Regions from separate parts of the Homo sapiens genome. Here region 1 is linked to region 2. The links are contacts of gene promoters, found by promoter capture Hi-C in human tissues and cell types (Jung and others, 2019). All regions are on one chromosome and are shown on one strand. The core of a region is centred on a gene start or on the middle of the fragment in contact, and the rest is flanking DNA. Distances in the headings are between cores, read along the strand shown.

Evidence for each region. The method cuts DNA at HindIII sites, captures the fragments that hold promoters and counts their contacts. A contact is called where the count stands out against the background at its distance.
Region 1: a fragment that was not itself captured here is called in contact with the fragment with the promoter of WNT3 in region 2 in 3 of the 25 tissues and cell types used here (dorsolateral prefrontal cortex, mesenchymal stem cells and spleen).

Annotation. Positions count from the first base shown.
Region 1 is chr17:46,743,465-46,749,565 of GRCh38, forward strand. The region is part of intron 17 of NSF (N-ethylmaleimide sensitive factor, vesicle fusing ATPase); the gene reads left to right. It also overlaps a transcript of LRRC37A2 not described here. Among named protein-coding and RNA genes, the nearest start is that of WNT3, 72 kb to the right of the region's middle. The HindIII fragment of the contact is 3,479 bases long and covers 338-3,816 here.
Region 2 is chr17:46,816,845-46,822,329 of GRCh38, forward strand. It overlaps WNT3 (Wnt family member 3), which reads right to left and starts at 1,848. Exons shown (of 5, transcript NM_030753.5): 1 at 1,674-1,848. The coding sequence starts at 1,753. It also overlaps a transcript of LRRC37A2 not described here. RefSeq lists an enhancer at 2,903-3,490. The HindIII fragment of the contact is 29,146 bases long and covers 1-5,485 here.

The sequences.
Region 1 (6,101 bases), core at 827-3,326, 73 kb before region 2:
TCGCATATTTATGGTTGAGGAGGAGATAGATGCTGAGAAGTTAAATAATCTACCCCAAATCACACAGCTGTGAGTGATGGGGCCTCTACTTCTGTTGCACCAAGCTACCTGTCCATCAGGGGACTTGCCTCACCATTGCTTTCTGCCAGCCCTGGGCTTGCCTTAAAAAGGACATCATATGCATAAGACACTGGTTAAAAGGTGCAGCATGGTCCCTGGAGATGCTCACTCTTACAACTGGCCTGTCCTTGGGGCAGCAGCTCCTCACAGGCCCCTAAGAGGTAGACCTCCTGCCTGTGGCTGCCAGAACCCTCTTCTCCATCACAGGTCTTCCTCCTCAAGAGCCTTCTCTGGTTTCCTGTTGCTTTTTATATTAAATATTTCCCTTAGTTTAGCATCCCGAGTCTGCCTTTTGCTGATTGTTCCCTCCCTGTGTCTGCAGACAACTTCGTTTTCAGCCTTGGTGCTCTGTCTCAGCTGCTTCTACCACACACATAGGATTTAGGCGCATTCAGGACCTGTCCCTTCTTTTCAAGGGCCTTGCCAGTGCCTACTTGTTGTCATTGTCTTTGCAGTACTACGGATAACCTTCCTAGATAACCCCCCTCCAGGAAACTGTCCCCATAAACCGGGTGCCCTCCGCCATGATTAGTTTGTATTTGCGAGTGTGTTACTTGGTTGTGTTCCCTGAATATTTATTTGGTTTTCCCAGCTAAGTTGTAACTTATTTGAAGGCACAAACCAAATCTCATAATTCTATTAAGTACCTAAAAGGAGTAAATTATTGTTAATGCTCCAATTGGCTAATGTCTATTTCATATTTTACTTACCAGATTTACAAATGCTTAATATTCTGAAATATTTCACTCTCATTTACAAAAACATCAGATTCTACTAAGCAGAAAATAAAGTTTAATGCCCCCAGCACATAGCAGTTTTGAGTTGCACTTTTAAACTCACTTCTTAATCCATTTCAGGGTTTTCAATTGTTCACAGTTAATTCTTCTTACCAAGGGTGTATTACACTTGCTCAGCATTGAATGATATGGAAAGAATGGCCTTTCTTTCCTGCATAACTGACTTTACTTTTGTTCATAGGTTGAAATCAGCCCTTCCATTTCACTGCAGTATTATATTAGTGGCATTTTTATTTAGGGAAAAAAAAAAGCTTTCTTCCACTTGAACTTTTGTTACAAATCAGTTTATTGGGTCCAATCAATGGGCAAGACCTATGAAAGGGTGTGGATTATCTGGTTGGTCCTTTGTGTGGCAAAAGGCTTAGATGCTGCTTAGTACTCGCTCATTCTTCATCATGTAAAGAAGTGTTTTTTTTGAAGGATCAACACCTGACTGAGCCCTGCCTTTTTCATGGAAATGTTTTCACCTGAGTTGCTGCTTATGGTACTAAGAATTAGTTAACTAATACTTATTTAACCTTGGAACAATGTTTATCATAATCCGATTGGCAGATAGTCATTTTACTTAGGCTTTTTCTTTATAGCATCAGGACTAGCAAATCTCAGTAAAGAGTATGCTGGGAGCAATTTCTTTTTTCCCAAATAGGTTATCACTCTGTGCTTTTTTTTTTGCTTTCCGTCAAGGGGCATGTTTGGGCACTGTGGACATTAAGACTGGTGGCCACACATTAGGAAGGTGGAGGTCCCCTCTTGGGTTGAGCACCACTTTTGTTTTTAAAGCTGCATCCCCATTTCATGCTGCTGGCAGTGTTTCCCTTCAGACGAATCCCATGCAATGTATCACTTTAATATATTCGGAGCTGTTTTTCATGATAAAGCTTCCTTATGAGCACTACCACTAATTAATACACAAAATGGCCCAGCACAATTTAATAATTTGGTAATGTTTTTCAATGTTTTCTTAAAGATGACGCTTTACAAGTCAAGACCCAAACTTGCCTGGGTCATGACCTCTTTGCAGTTTTTGGAGTCTTGTTAAACAAGAAGGAAAGCAAAACATAAATTAGCGTCTCCAGTATGGTTGCTCTACATTTCCCAATCTTTCAACACTTTGAAGAGCATAGTCACTGTTAATGTAAGAGAACATCTCATGAGGAAACTGGCAGCGATTTTAAAAGTCCGGCTTTCTGGAATGAGTAAGAAGCTTCTTCCTCAGTGCCACTGTTCTAGGGCCAACATTGTCCTTTGTGAGAGAGGAGCAAGATGAGGAAGTTTGCATTATGGACTATGGAACATTAAAAAGCTAAAAAAGAGAAGTAACAGTTACCTTTAATCATACTGAGGATGTATCAGCATGTGTGGCCTTTGGCATCTGTTAGCCTTTAGGGCTATGTTCCCAAGTTTGCCATTAGAATTTAGTGTTAAAAAATACTTTAAATATAACAGCACCACTTTTTGTTATAGTAAAAATGTATGTCTTTACTCGATTGTAATTACCTCAACACCCAGCTTTTGTTGTTATTTTGCCCTTGGACTTAGGTATTTCTGTTCCTCTGGCTTAGAATGTCCTTCCCCTTCATCTTCCTAATCAACCTACTCATTCCTTACGACTCAACTCATGTATCATCTCCTCCAGAAAAAGCTTTCTCTGCCACGTGTTTCTTCCCTCTACCTGACATCCTTGTGCGTAATACCTCCACCTTTCCATATTGTACTATAATTATCTATTTTGCATCTGTCTTTCTGTGGAAGGTCTGTTGCATATTCATCTAGGAACTTGGTAAATGTCTGATGATAAGCATTTGATTTTTTCCTAGTTGATTCCTCAAATAATAATAATGATTACCCTTTAATCTGAATGCTCACAGGTGTACTTCTATCTCATATTCTATGCGCAGTCATCTGTTAAGCTAATGGCTAATTGTACCAGAGGGTCTCAACTTTGTTTCTTTGATCTGCATTGGTTTATGGTGGTACCTTGCCCATTCTTGGCACAGCAGGTGGATAAAAACAATGAGTAACATTGAGAAAGGCTAATGTGTCTTATTGACAGTAGTGGTATAATGTTTACCAAACCCAAATTGAAATTATTTTGGTTTCTTAAAATCTTTTCCCGATAGCCCATTTATTTTAATGTTCTGAATTTCCAAGATCTGTGTATAGGTTCAATGATTAGTCTTTACTGAAGACTTATCTATGGACTGAGTGTGTATTATAAATCTAGTGACATAAGTTTAAAACTTATTCCTTTTTCATTTTCCAAGTAAACTTTTTTAGTAATGTGTTTTTCTTTGTAAAGACAGGCAGTATATGATTTAGGTCTGGATCTGGTTTCCAGTCTTGGCTCCATCATGTATTGGTTATTTGGCCTTGAACACAAATGACTTGCCTTGAACACAAATGACTTATATCTGTGAGATTCAATAGCTTCATCAGTAAAATGGGGATAGTAGTAGTACTGAATTTTCATGATTATAATGAAAATTAATTGAGAGACTGATCTGGAGAGGTGCCATACTACAAAGAGGATTAAGTGGAGGTGTCCCTATTAAATGGCGAGATACCCAGAAACATTACCCTGTTGACTCCAGTATGCTGGCAACGAGGCTTTATAGTCTTTGGGAAGGAGACTGGAAGATTCTTCTCTGGGAAAAATGTACACATACTGACCTTTGAAGGACCCCCAGTAATCAGCCAGGTCTTACCTGATCATCCTATAGTGAAGCCCCCCGACACAGTATTTCCATTCATAGTTTAGCTCTTAAATGTGAATTAGCTATCCAGCAATCACCAGACACTTGAGGAAAGCCTCCAGAAAACAAATTGGAAAAAGGGGCAAGTCATAGGAAACAGACAAAACAAGGAACAGAAGAAAACATCATTTTTGCAATCTATAATATTCACAAGTTTGTTTTTTGAGACAGAGTCTCACTTTGTCACCCAGGCAGGAGTGCAGTGGTGCCATCTCGGCTCACTCCAGCCTCAAACTCCTTGGCTCAAGCGATCTGCTCACCTCAGGCTCCCAGGTACCTGGGACGACAGGCATTTGCCACCACACCCGGCTAATTTTGGTATTTTTGTTGAGATGAGGTTTCGCCATGTTACCTAGACAAGTCTCAAACTCCTGGGCTCAAGTGATCTGTCCATCTCAGCCTCCCAAAGTGCTGGGATTACAGGTGTGAGCCACCGGCCTCAGAGATCTAAAACAAGATATTGTATTTTAATTGCACAGGATGCAATTAAAAAAGAAAACATTCAGAAAACAAGAAGAGCTCTTAGAACTGAAAAATAAGTTAGTGTAAAGGTTGGAAGATAAAATTGATACTAACCTGAAAAGTATTAGAAAGAGAAAGAAATAAAAACTAAGAGTAAATAAGAAAATTAGAAGATTAGTCCTAGAGAATCAGTATCCAACTAAGAGGTTCCCAGTGGGTGATACAGAGAAAATGAATGGGAGGAAATCTCAAGGAAATGTATTTCCTAGAACTGAATGATTGGAATTTCCAGTTTAGAAAGAAGGAATCTAGTGCCAGCAAAATGAGTATAGAAAGAACCATCTTAGGATATGTAGTTTTCAAATTGCAGAACATAGGAATGAAGAAAAGATTCTGAAAGTTTTGTATTAAAAAGGTTAGAAACAAAAGATCAAAGATCAGATAGCATTTGTCTTTTAGCCTTCAGTGCCTTCAAAATTGTGAGAAAAAAATTATTTCTAACCTTTTTATTTATTTATTTATTTTTTTGAGATGGAGTTTCGCTCTTGTTGCCCAGGCTGGAGTGCAATGGCGTGATCTTGGCTCGGCTCACTGCAACTTCTGACTCTTGGGTTCAAGCATTCTCCTACCTCAACCTCCCAAGTAGCTGGGATTACAGGCACGTGTCACCATGCCCAGCTAATTTTGTATTTTTAGTAGAGATGGGGTTTCGCCATGTTGGTCAGGCTGGTCTCAAACTCCTGAACCTCAGGTGATCCACCTGCCTCGGCCTCCCACAGCACTGGAATTATAGGCATGAGCCACCACACCTGGCCTCTAACCTTATTTTTTACAACTAGCCAAACTATTAAGACAAAGGATACAATAGTAAGGCTAGAATAAAGGTATTTCCAGACATGCAAGGTCTTTAAAATTTTACCTCCCTCACTCTTTCTGAGGAAGCTTTTGGGTACATGCAGCATAGACAGGGGAATAGATGAGGAAAAGGAAGGCTGGGATACAGGGAATCTAACAGAAGAGAGAGGAAAGCTCCAGAACTACAGCTGTGCCCCAGGCCTAGAGAGTCACCGCTTCAGATTGAACTGTGAACACACAGGACTCCTGGAGGGGAATTTCTTCAAGAACACAACTTTAAACTATGTAATGTGTTTGAACATACTGAAAGGAGACTTGTGATTGTTTTAGAGACAAACTTGTGATAAGTACCTGGTAAACTAAGCAAAGGGGAAAAAGGCAATTAACTCCAGTAAAACAAAATGTTGTCCAAGAAAGGAAATTGAATAGTACTCTGCATGGCCTAGCTGTAAACCACATTTGTATAAACATAATAAATACTGAATATAGATTTAACTAAAGACTGTGAAATAACTGTATCGGAAGGATGTAAAAAGGGGCATGTGGTGGGGGAAGGGGGGTAGTGCAAAATTAATAATAAATCCCCATCTTCCATGGTAGGAAGTTAGTAAATCATATTTAAAGCTGAAAACAAAAATCTAAAACCAGTAATGTAACATTATTATTTGAAGATAAGGAAGTAAATATAAGAAGAAAAGCCAAGAGAATTGAAAATGGTTGCCTTTGAAGAAAGGGAACTGAGAATGGTAGCATAAGCCTGGCATAGTTTTTAAACTTTTTTTAAAAAAATATTTTGGGGTTAAAAGTAAAAATGAAAAATATTAAATGTGACAATTATGGAAAGCACTTTAGCCCATGCCTTTTACAGTTCAGTGTTGCATAAATATAAACTCTTATTACCCTGCTCCTTCTAAAAAGTGTACTAAAGCCTTGTAAAGCCAGCGCCACATACTTTCTATTCATTTCATCTTTTTTCCCCAATTCCCACCATACATGTGCCATGTTGGCTCTGAGGAAGGAATTACATACATACACGTCAGTATCTTTCCATTTGTTTGTGTATCTTCTTGATTTACTAATCCATTGTTTTATTGATGTGAATGAGAAGGAGCTG
Region 2 (5,485 bases), core at 598-3,097:
GCATGGCCTTGGCCCGGGAATGGGAAGAGGGTCAGGAATGGCCGGGTGAGGCTGGACTGGTGTTGGCAGCAGCCTTTCCCCAGACTGGCCGAACCTCCTTCCTGAAGTCCCTGGCTGCCCTGGCCACCCCATGGACTTCTTTATGTGCTGGAAGCCTCAGGTTAGCCCAGCCCCCCGGAAAAGTGTGGGTTGGGCAGAAGAAAGACTTCCCCTTGGCTGGCTGTCCTGGGAGCAACTCCTAGCACCCTCTAAACAGAGACCCTTGGCCATGTCCCCACCCTCTCTCCCAGGAGCCCCAAACACCCAGACACAAATGCTGCCATCCCCAAACAACTGGAAGACTCGGGGTGTGGCCCCCAAGTCTCGCTGTCTCTGCTCCTCCTACCCTGGACTCTGGGTTGGCGAAAGGCAGGGAGTCTGGGGACCTGCAGGCGGTACCGCACCGTGGTGGCACTTCTTTCTGACTTTCACCCCGGGGGCCACAGCCCACTTCTCACTCACAGATCCCAAATTCTTCCTCCTCACCTCCCCCCGCCCAGGCCAAGGCTCTCCTATGTCCAGGAGGGGAAGATTCTTTAATTAAAGTTTTCCGGAATGTAGGGGGCTGGAGACTGGGGAGAGGCGGAGTGTAATTTAGAGAACTGGTTTCAGTGTCTTCCCCTCTGGCCCCTGGGACCTGCGGAGGGTGGGAGAGCGGCGATGGGGCCGCTCGGAAAACAAGGGGACTCCTGGAGCTGGGGCTCCCAAAGCGATGTTTATTCCTCACCCAGGCCCCCCAGACACGCACAGCCCCCCCCAAGCACTGCTCCCGGCTTCCCAGTCTTATTTACTAAAATGTCTTTTGTATCCACATTTCTCAGGGACGGAATTCTCCCTTCCCTCTCCCTTTCTCCTCGGTCCTCGGTTTTCCAAAAGGAAGAAATGTGACATGGAGAATTGGATTTTTGGTCAAAGAACAACAAGCCTACCCCTCCCAGACAACACATTTTCAAGGAACCCCCCTTTTGCCAGGGTGGACAAGCAAGAAATGAATAAAATCCGAATTCAATGGCATCCCGGATCAGCAAATACCATATTCACTTCAGAGGCTCAAGATGAATCTAGAGCGGTGGGGAGAATCTGATGAAATCCCCCCACCCACTCCCCTGCCCCGGGAGGAGCCCTGAAGCCTTTGGGGTCTGAAATAGGAAGGCAAAGGGGGGTTATTATGGGGAATCTCTTGATGGAGGCGCCGGCAGAGGTGGGGTGGCAGTGAAGGAACAGGATGGTTTTGCCCATGAAGACCCCAAAATGGAGAAGAGGAGTGGCTGGGCCCCAGGGACAGTGCTGGATTTCCAGAAACCCAACTGCAAGCAAATGGGGGGTCTTCGGGGGCCTCTAGATTGGGACGGGCAGAGGGTTAGGATCTAAGAATAAGAAACCTTCTGAGATGGGAAAAGTCCTCCAGCCCCTGCAGCGGGGAGCAGGGAAAATGGTGATTATCAGAGGAGCCAGGAGTTGGATTCTGAAGGCGACACCAGCAGAAAATCCAGGAGGGGTGGGCGGGTGGGGGGCTGGAGGGAGGCGAGGAGAGGAGCCCCAGCCCTGCAGCGGCCCACCCCCAGCCGGCGCCCCCACCTTCCCCGGACGCGGCGGAGAAACCGGGCCGCGGGCAGACAAGAGGCGAGTCTTACCACCAAATTGGGTAGCCAGCGAGGACCCTGGTGCCACCGAGCAGGAGGCCGAGGAGCAGCCCGAGCAGGTGGGGCTCCATTAGAAGAGGCGCCGAGGAGGAAGTTTGCCCGCGACCATGAAGAGGGGGAGCGACGCCCCCAATAGTTGGAACAAAGTCCACTTGAGATTGGAAATGACTTTCGGGCTTGTCAGAAGCGCACCTCCACCCGCAGCCGCCCCCCTCCCGAGCCCAGCGCGGAGCAGCCGGGTTTGAGGATGTCAGCGAGCAGCCAATCAGCGCCCGCGGCCTAAGGTAAGAGATGAGTCTGTAGTTCAGCCTGTCAATCACGCGCCCCTCCCGCCCGGCCCACAACTCGGGCTCCGGGAAGGGCATCGCCCAGCAAACTTGGGCAAAGCCCGCGCCCCGGACGCCGCGGGGCTTCGGGGGGACGCGGTGGGCCGGACCCTCTGCTACCGCCGCGGTCCCCCGCTGGCCAGGGTTAGGGCGCGGGGGCTTTGACCCGGGCGTTCACATGGCGAGGGCTTGGCGTGGGCATGAACGGGTGGCTCCTTTGCTGGCGGGGACCGTGACCCGTTGGGACGTGGGCCCGCGAGGAATCGAGGGTAGAAAGCACAGGGATGTTTCCAGAAGCCCCGCTCGGGCAGGTCAGGATCAGAGGGTGGGGGAACGCACCCCCTCCCAGCTTCCAGCCTCCCGAGTCCGCCCGCTCTCTGGCCTCTCGTCCTGGCCGCGGGAGGTCACTTCCCGGGTGTCCGAGGAACGTGCGGAAAAGTCCGCGGAGGCTCGAAGGTCTGGCTGCGGGCGGCGCCGGGGGACGGAGCCGAGTGTCATTTGAGTCTTTTGTCAGGGATCAGATCGGTATCGGGACCTCCTGCTGCCTTTGCATTTCCTGCAACTGACACCAGCGGCCAGTCGCATTTCCTGCTCTCGGAGTCGGGTCACTTTCTCCTCCTTGAGGGGTTCAGGCCCGACCTCTGGCCCGGGTCGGAGGCGTGACCCACAGCCTCAGTGGGATTCTCGGTTGGACCATCAGGGACCGGTGAAACGCGCAGCTCTGGCCGAGGGCGGCCCAGGTCCTTGGAAGACCTTGCTGCCCTCCGGAGCGCCCCTCACTGCCCGACCGTCCCGCCTGAGGCCCCGGTTCTACTGATAGGGAGCTCCAGCCTGGGGTTTGGCGATAAAGGCCCTTGCCCTGTGCGGACACCAAATGCCTCCAGTTACCCACCCCTCCCCACAGGAAAGGAGTCCTTCCAGGCCCCCTTCGGGCTTGCTTCCTCTCCTCTCCCTCTCCAGAGCGAGGAATTAGGTCTCAGCCCTGGGTGGTATTGACATCATGGTCAGGTTTTGGGGACTCACGCCCGGTCACCTGGGTGCCTTTCCCTAGGCCCCCTCCCAGGCCACCTGAGGCACCAGGACTCTGCGCAGCCCCGGTCTGGGGTGAAGGAAGCACTGCCGGTGGGGAGCAGGGACCGCTGTGTAGGGAACTGTGGCAGAAAGGGCAGAGAATGAGCCGACCCGAGTCCCACAGAGGCCTGGAACGGCGGGCGTTCCACGAGGTGAGGGCCATGGCTGAAGGAAGTCTTACGCCAGGGGGCCAGACATTCCTGGCCTTTGATCTGAGCCCCCCGTACCCACAGCTCCAACCTGCTGCCCCTTCTGGTCGGCGAGCCCTCTCCGCACGCGGCTGCTGCCGGCACAGGGAGCGCGGGGAAATGGCCTCGGGGGCACCAAGGGTCGGGAGAGCCGCCTGGGCTTGTCATGGCTCCTGCTGCGTTCCCAGCCCATTGCTGGACTGGAGGGGGTGGGAGGGGAGGTTGAAAGAGAGGAAGGAAGGGGAGGAAAAGGAGAATCCGAGAGGAGGAGAGAGAGAGAGGGGCTCAGAGATGAGAGAGACGCTGAGACAGAAACCAAGAAAACTGTCGGGGGGAGGCTGAGCCACCGGTGTGAGGAAGAAAGGGGCAGGGGGGAGGCGGAGAGCACCAAGGAGCTGCAAGGCGAAGAAAAATCGTGAACCTGACCAGGAGTGGTGAACCTGGTGGGGGCTGCAGAGATGGGGATCCCTAGAGATGCTCCTCATGGCTGGGCTGATTCTGGGGTGCCCTGTTTCTGATTCACCTGGAAAGAGGGTTACCATTGCCATGAATGCAGAGCCTCAGGACCAAGGCTCTGGCAGTGGAGAGCTTTCCACATACCTCCCTCTTGGATGGAGGCCTGCTAGGTCCTACCTGGAGTCCTGTCCCACCCACAGGGCTCCCAGGTGGCTTTCTGATCAGAGCTGCCTGCTGGAGTCCTGCCCAAGGGCTCGGGAGTTCCAGAGCCCCATGACAGTGGTGCTGAGAGCTGGGGAGGGCTACCTTCCCTGGCCACTCAGACACCACTGTGGATGCAGTATGGTGGGGCGACAGGGCCTGGACTTGATGGCTTCTTGGGGTCATTACTGGGCCTCAAGACTCCACAGGTGCCAACCCTGTGAGGTGGGAGCAAAAGATCCGAGGCTGTCGGTGGGAGTGTGTGTTGGCTGAGATATGCCCAGCCAGCATCCTGGGTGCTGTGGGCAAGAACATCATTCCCTGAGGGGTCATGTGTACCTGAATGCCTCCTCCAGGCAGCCTGGAGAACTCAGACGCAGGTCATGTGCATCAGGCAGGAAACAAGTGGGTTGAAGGGTGGAATCTAGGAGCTGGCCATGTGCGCCTGGGAAGTGACAGAGGAGAGGACTGGAACCTACCAGCGGCCCTGCCAGGCCCCTAGTGAATGGAGGTGTGTGTGGGGATTTCCGCCACTTGAAAGCTCCTCAGACAAGGGGAGCCTGAGTCCCTTCCTTTCCCCCAGGTGTCCTTCCTTCAACACAGGTTTAATTTCCTTCCTCCTGCACCCCTTGCGCTGCCGCGGGTGGAAACGCAGGAATGGTTTCTCTCAGGGGAGGGCGGGCGCCCCTGACCACACATCACAGATAGAAACACCCTCTCTCTAACAGGTACCCCAAGCCCCAGGGTGGTTTCACTTGGTGGAGAAAGGGTTAAATTCACTCCAAGACCAGGAAGGGAGGGCGGGGTGGAGGCATCAGCCGGTGGACCAGGAGGCCATCGCCCTGAAAGGAAGGGTGGTCTCTTGGAAGAGGGCAGAAGAGGCAGCAAGGGCCAGGGACCTGGGGACATGGGGTGGCACGTGGGAAGCACTTTTTGTTGTGTGTGTGAATGTGTGGGACCTTAGACCTGGGAAGGGGACCCCAGTCCCAACCCAACCCCTCTCTCTAGCTGGCTCGGAGGTTCCTTTTGATGTGCACTCCCCCGGGGCTCAGAGTCTGCCGCTGTGTATTCAGTGAGGCTCCACTGGACCCCCTGCGGAGGCACCGTGTAGACAAAGAATCCGGTGGCCAGGCCCCCGCCCGCCCTCATGGGGCTACCCGTCTGTCGCGGGGAAGGAGGAGGAAATCTCCGATCCAGGCACTGTGCCATTCATTTTTGCTTGAAACAGGTCTTGGGGCTGCCAGGCGGGAGTCGGGAGCCGGACCAACCTGGGGGGGTAAAGGGAGAGGCGAAGCCGTTGCAGCGGGGAAGCAGGTGGGGAAGTGCGAAGGGCCGAAGGCCTAACACCACAGGGCTTATGGAGGAACAGTGCAAAGGGAGCACATAGGGGGCTCCAAGGCCTCTGACCTGGAGAGGAGGGCGTTTAACTTTCTCCTAGGAGCTGTAGGAACCGCAGAGCGGTTTTAGGCGAGCTCCCTAGAGGCCACTGGAAGGCTGGACAGCAGAGCCTGGAAGCAGGAAGGCCCTAGCGTGGGTGGTGGGCGCAGGAGTAAATCGGATT